Regions from separate parts of the Homo sapiens genome. Here region 1 is linked to region 2. The links are contacts of gene promoters, found by promoter capture Hi-C in human tissues and cell types (Jung and others, 2019). All regions are on one chromosome and are shown on one strand. The core of a region is centred on a gene start or on the middle of the fragment in contact, and the rest is flanking DNA. Distances in the headings are between cores, read along the strand shown. Region 1 overlaps SKIC8 (SKI8 subunit of superkiller complex). Region 2 holds the start of ADAMTS7 (ADAM metallopeptidase with thrombospondin type 1 motif 7).

Region 1 (3,082 bases), core at 275-2,774, 530 kb after region 2:
TGTCTTGTTCTTGATTAGGTTTAAACTGGTCTCTCCAAGCTGCATCTGTCATAATGAATACATCTTGACACTTTCCTTGGACTGGGAGCACTGGCCCCATACGGAAAGGCTGCTGGTGCAGGCAGGAGTCTGAACCTGCCCTTCTCCTCAGATGGCTTCCTTGCCCCGTTGGTTCTCAATTTCCTCATCTGAGGGGTTGGCTTGCGAAGCCTCTGTAGTGTGGTTCTTTGTTCATTTTGAGCTTCAGCTCTTTGCTTGTGAAGGATTTTATTCTTGGCTTTTGGTGGTGTCAACACATTATGGGTTAATGCTACTATTAAAATTTGTCTCTAATGCATGAAGCTACTTCATTGAAAGAGGAATTTTTGATATAGTATTCATGGTCATTATAAGGATAGCAGATTTGGTCCAGCTTATTGGCAGAGTTAATAATATACTTTCCACTTCAGTGATTATACTGTAGAAATTAACATCTCAATTTTGTTTGAAACTTTCCCATTTCAGACAACATGCCAATTTGGCTGGCACGCTGAGCGGCCATGCCTCCTGGGTGCTGAACGTTGCATTCTGTCCTGATGACACTCACTTTGTTTCCAGGTACTTAATGATTCTTAGCAGTTTCTAAAATGCTGGGGAGATGAGAGCAGTCTTCTTGTATAGATTGCCTTAACATTTAAAGATGTTTGACCCTTTTTTATTCAGTTAGCCTTTCTTTTCTGCAGTTCTTAAAATTTTTATTTAGTGATGTTAGTTGACCTTAGCTGGAACAAAAGTCAACAAGTAATCCTTTTAAACAGTAAAACTCTTAGTTTTTTCATTATAAATTGAGGCTTCTACCAAAGTGACTCTAAGGTAGACTTGTGTTCCAATGGTAACTTAAAATATGTAAATGTTTGTAAAATGTTGTTTATAGATCCCAGTGTTGGTCAGGCCTGGGATGGCCAAGACAGTTGGAAAGCAGGAGATGGACAACTTGAAGGCATTGCACAGTGCTTTAGAGGCCTCCTGCGAGCCTTGGTTTTGAAGCTTTAACAGGCCTCCCTCCCATCTGGAAATAGGTAGCTGTGTCTGAGACTCCTGGAGAACAATTAATATGAGGGCCAGGCAGATCACAATTTCAGGAAAATGGCTACCCTGTGAGGAGAGAAAGCCACCCAATGATGCTGATACCTGGCCATTTCCTGTACCGAGGCATGGGGTTGGGGGGTCTGAAGTTAGAAGAATGTAAGTCATCAAAGGATTTTTGGTCGAAGTCCTTCCAACTTCAAACCGATACTAATGTTCACTTTTTAAAATAGTTCGTCTGACAAAAGTGTAAAAGTTTGGGATGTTGGAACGAGGACTTGTGTTCACACCTTCTTTGATCACCAGGATCAGGTATGGCATTATTATTTCATCTTTAGATAGTCGGGGTTGTTTGACCATTGTACCAAAGAGATTTTCTTTTCCTGACCTTGTTGCTTGAGCTGTGGATACCAGTAGATGCCTGGGCCTGAGCTGCTCTATCTGCTCAGTCATCCATGTAGCCAGAGTTCCTGTGCAGAGTCTGGGGTGCAGAGGCTGGGATGTGCTGTCAGCCTAGCAACTCACGAGGCATATCCCCACATAGGCTGGAAAACATGGTGTTAGCCCCACAGCCTTTAAATGCCGTCTTTGGAAATTGCTGCAGCTGGTGTCTGGGGCCCTCTCCTGGGGGCTGCTGCGCCATGGCAGGCTCACCAAGGACCTTCCTCTTCAGGAGATTCCATTGCTTAAACACAATCATCGCTTGTCATTTTTGGGACTGTCCAAAGAAGAGATGTGATTTTTTTTTTTTTAATATAGTAGAAGCTGGAAATTCATACAAGTTTTTTGGCTTTAGTGTTATTGATAACTTTTCAGTCTTTAAAAGGAAACTGTTCTCACAAGCAACTTTATCTTTGCCAAGGTGAATATGTGAAATAGCAAAGGTGTTCTAGTGCAATACTGCTGAGTCTTTCATGTGTGCTCGTATCCCCTGGGAACCTGGTGAAAATGCAGATGCTGCTTCACTAGGTCTGGCAGAGGGCCTGGGATTCTGCATTTCTAACAGGCTTCCAGGTGAGGCCAAGGCTGCTGGTCCTAACCACACTGTAAGGTCTTGGGGAACTGAGCATAAAAAATAAAATGTCCATGGCAATATAATATTGGCTTTTAATATATTTTAAATATTTTTAGATGGTCCTATAGATTTCTCCTCTTTGAAATGGAACTTAAAGTTAACTAACATTGTTCATGCTTATTTTTCAACTTAAATTGTCCCAACAAAATTGAGGGGGTTCTATCTTGATATTCCACTTCTGGATTTAAGCATCTTACTCAGGGAGTAAGTCCTGGCTAGCTGTGTTTCCTTGTATGTATGGATCATTGCGGTGCTGTGTCAGAGGCTGGAGTGAAAGGCCATCATGCAGCCCAATCCCAACACTAAAATCAGAGTAGGGTGACAGGCTTACCACCCAGAATCACCTCCTAATAATCAGGAAGTTATTTATGATTAGAGAAACTCCAACCACATCAATTCTGTCTGGGAAGGAGGTGTGAATCAGTTAATTTAACACATAGCAAATAAAAATCTATGGTCCACAATATCATGTTGTCTAGCTCCTGGGGACAGGCAGGCTCCATAGGCCACTAATAACAGAGTGAGAATTACTGACTGTGGGGGGCGGACACAAGGGGTCAGCTGAGGAGCGCAGTTTGTGACTTTCCCTATAGGCAGTGACCTCGGGGTAGTTGTGGGGCTCTTTCTTCCTGGAAGCATAAATGTTGGTCTCTTATGGCTTCCGTCTTCCTGGCATTAGGTTACACTTCAGGATTCTGACTCTTTGAAAGGGTTGTAGATAGTCTTGATTAGTACTGTATTTAAAAATGATTTTTTTTTTTTTTTTTGGAGTATGGGAAGGGGCAGGAATTCTAATTAAATAGCAATAATGGAAGGTGCTCGGTTAAAGCCTCCATTCTCACTGATTTAGAAAGTACAAGAACATCCTCATCTCAGTTTTGGTAGATTCAGAATAACGAGAAAATAAGGATGTTCATTTCATAAATATTATAAAGAATAAAG
Region 2 (3,150 bases), core at 1-2,500:
GAAGTAGGTGAAGCCAGGAGGGGCTGGTAGGTTGGGCGAAGAGGAAGGTATCAAGGGACTGGAGGAAGAGCAATACATAGTGGGACTGTGAAGGTGGAAAGGACTGCAGAGTCGGGTCTGACAGGGGGGCACCTGAGCTTCGGATTTCCAAGATGGAGCAGTTCTGAGGGATGACACAGCCCAGGCTTTGGCCCTGAGACCTGATGGCTGAGGTGGAGTGGAAGGTCACTGGAGATGAGATGGAGGAAGTAGGTGACCCTGTACTACACAAATTCCCTAGAGGACAGACAGGTTGAGGGTGGAGAGGAAGCCAGAAGTGAGCTTCCAGGAATTGAATGAAAGGGCCCAGGAGATTGGACAATGAGGAGGTGTGCGGGCCTCAGAGGGCAGGGGGCACACAAAGACTAACCAAGGGGAGGAAGCTGACCGCAACCGCCCCGAGGACAAGACGGGCGTCCTCGGTACAGGGCCATGTTTAGTGACGGCAGAAGGGAGAAAGGAAGCTCCTGGGAGCACAGGGGGAAGGGGAGCCGGAAGCCAGAGCCAGGGCTGGGGCCACGAAGGACAGACGGCCGGTGTTGGAGGCGGAGGCTGGCCTGGGATGTGAGGCTGGGGTTGGCCGGCCTCCAGGCTCCCCGGGAGCCCCTGCTGAAAGTCTGTGGGCGCTGGCCTGGGCGAAGCCGCGGTCCCCCGCCTGTGGGCTCAACTCTGCGCTCTGCTTCAAGCAAACGCACTAGGAGAGGAGTCAGGAGACGAGGAACTGCGGGGCCCCACCTCGCGCGGGCAACCGCTGTCTGTCCAGGGAGGGCCCAGGCCTGTCTCCGCAGATAGCTTTGAAGCAGGGCCCCCGGTGTGGCCCTCTGGAGGCCTCCCGCGTCCCCTTTTGAGGGGCTGCCCTGCTTGGCCTGGGGAACACAGCGAAGGGCACCTCGTGGAGCCCAATTTAGGGACAACACATTAATTCTGGAAATTCCAGATTCTTTCCGGGGGTCCTCAACCGGCCGGGGTCGGAAAGGCCTGGCAGGGCTCCGCCGGCAGGGGGCGCTCGGGACAGGGGGGCGAGGGGGGCGGACATCCGTTGCGGGGCGCTGCCTGCGCCGGGCCGGCCAGCCCTTGAGGCGAGCACGGCCTGCGGGGCCGATGAGGCCGGGGCCGGCCGGGGCGGGGCGGGGCCAGGGGCGGGGGAAGGAGTCCGAGGGGCGGGGCGGGGGCCGGCAGCCGCCCTCCCTCACTCTCCCTCCCTTTCTTTCTTTCTTTCTTTCTCTCCTTCTAGCTCTCTTGTCTTTTCTTTGCCTCTGCAGCGGCCAAGGGGGCGGGCCCTGCAGCCTTTGTTGCCCGCGGACCGAGCGCAGCCGAACGGAGTCGGGGCCGGGTCGCCGGGAGCTGCACGCCGGCCGGGCATGTCCTGAGCCGGACCTGGGACCAGGCAGCGACCGGACGGGACGGACGAGAGCGTGCGCGCGGGGTCACCCGGCGGCCGCCCGGTTCCTGCCATGCCCGGCGGCCCCAGTCCCCGCAGCCCCGCGCCTTTGCTGCGCCCCCTCCTCCTGCTCCTCTGCGCTCTGGCTCCCGGCGCCCCCGGACCCGCACCAGGTGGGTGTCCGCCCCTCCCCGGCCAGCCGGGCCTGCCACCCCTTCCCGCTCCCCCAGTCTCGGTTTTGTCCCTCCTCACCTTTGTGGACCCCGCGCCGGCTCCGCTGTGCCTGGAGTTGGTCGCGTCTTCCGCTCCCTGGGTATTAGGGGACAGTAGTCGGGGTCGGGCCGGGCCGGGAGCGAAGCCGCGCTTCTGGGGAAACTTCCTCGGCCCCTGATTCAGTTACTGACACTGCCTGTCGCCTGGAATAAGCCCCTTCCGCTCTTCGGGCTCCGGTTTCCCCACCTCGGGTGCAGCAACGCGCCTGGCTCCCGGGAGAGCTCTCGTCCGAGTGGGCTGGACGGAGCGCGGTTTACCCACTGAGGATTTGGTTTCTCACACTCCTTAGCGAGGCTCGCCTGGAAAGCGGGCTGGCCGGGACACAGCCGGCGAGGGCGCCAGGTCGCAGGTCTTCGCGGGACCCCGCCGCCCCCCCAGCTCCCGCCCACCGCATCTGGGCTGCTGGCGCGGCCCCTGGCGGCTCGGGGGGCCGGGTCTTGCGCGGTCCTTGCACTTCCTGCCTCTCCCTTCCCCAAGTGTGAAGACGCCGGGAGTGGAGCGGGGAGCAGGAGCTTCTTTTCCCGGCCATGGGTTAACTCTCCCCGCCCCGCCGGGCCGGCCTCCGACGAGCCTCTGGCCTGCGTCCAGACTCTTGTTTGGCGGCGACCTGCCGGGCGGCCGCGCTGCTGGCGCGTCCGACGCAGCCGGCCTGGGAATTCAGTAACCGAGGATGTAGGAGACCCCAGGCCCGGTGCTCAGGGAGCTCCCAGTCAGGGGAGCCGGTGGATAGTGGGGAGAGTCCTGCAATAGAGCCGACCGGCAGGCTTTGTAGGAGAGGAGGGGCATGAGGTTGGAGAGACTGGAAGGATGGATGGATTCTGGATGAGCTAGAAGGGCGTGGAGGGAGTGGGGCCCTCCCCTGGGGAGCATCAGTCGGGGGACTGGATTAGGGTTGCTTGCTGGGATGGGGTCGACCTGCCTCCCCACTGGAGGGATTGTGACGAGAAAGTAGTCTGGGCGGGAAGGATGGGGACATTGACTCTTGATCTTAGAGGTTTGGGAAGCCGTTGAGGGGAGCAGCTGATGAAAGCAGTGTTTTGGAAAGATTTGGTCTAGCAGCCATGCGCAGAGCGCAGAGGGAGCGAACATTTAATGAGCACCTACTGTGTGCCAGCCTCACGGGTTCTTATTTCTCATCATCTCCACAACAACCGTGCAAAGCAAGTGATGGAAAGTCCTTTTATGGACCAGCAAACAGGCTCAGAGTAGAGCGACCTGTGGGGTTGGACTCCTGAGCTTCCTGAATGAGGCTTGTGTTTTCCACTGTCCAGAGCTGGGGGCTGAGGAGGATGAACCGGGCGATGGGAATGGGAGAGCAGGAAAATGCTTCCCTCAGGACTTGGGTCCTGGCCCCCTGGCAGCTGTGGGAAGAGTTGGGTGCGGTCAACCTCGTGGGATTCTTATGAGGATTAAATGAGATATTGAATATGTCAGTTGCTCAGGCAGGACACAGTGAC

Evidence for each region. Contacts are between HindIII fragments. The study calls those that stand out against the background at their distance.
Region 1: a fragment that was not itself captured here is called in contact with the fragment with the promoter of ADAMTS7 in region 2 in 1 of the 25 tissues and cell types used here (hippocampus).

The regions. Positions count from the first base shown.
Region 1 is chr15:78,283,556-78,286,637 of GRCh38, reverse strand. It overlaps SKIC8 (SKI8 subunit of superkiller complex), which reads left to right. Exons shown (of 11, transcript NM_025234.3): 9 at 505-597; 10 at 1,299-1,377. Among named protein-coding and RNA genes, the nearest start is that of SKIC8, 15 kb to the left of the region's middle. The HindIII fragment of the contact is 6,679 bases long and covers 1-3,082 here.
Region 2 is chr15:78,809,564-78,812,713 of GRCh38, reverse strand. ADAMTS7 (ADAM metallopeptidase with thrombospondin type 1 motif 7) reads left to right here and starts at 1,250. Exons shown (of 24, transcript NM_014272.5): 1 at 1,250-1,593. The coding sequence starts at 1,494. RefSeq lists a silencer at 803-1,222. The HindIII fragment of the contact is 14,119 bases long and covers 1-3,150 here.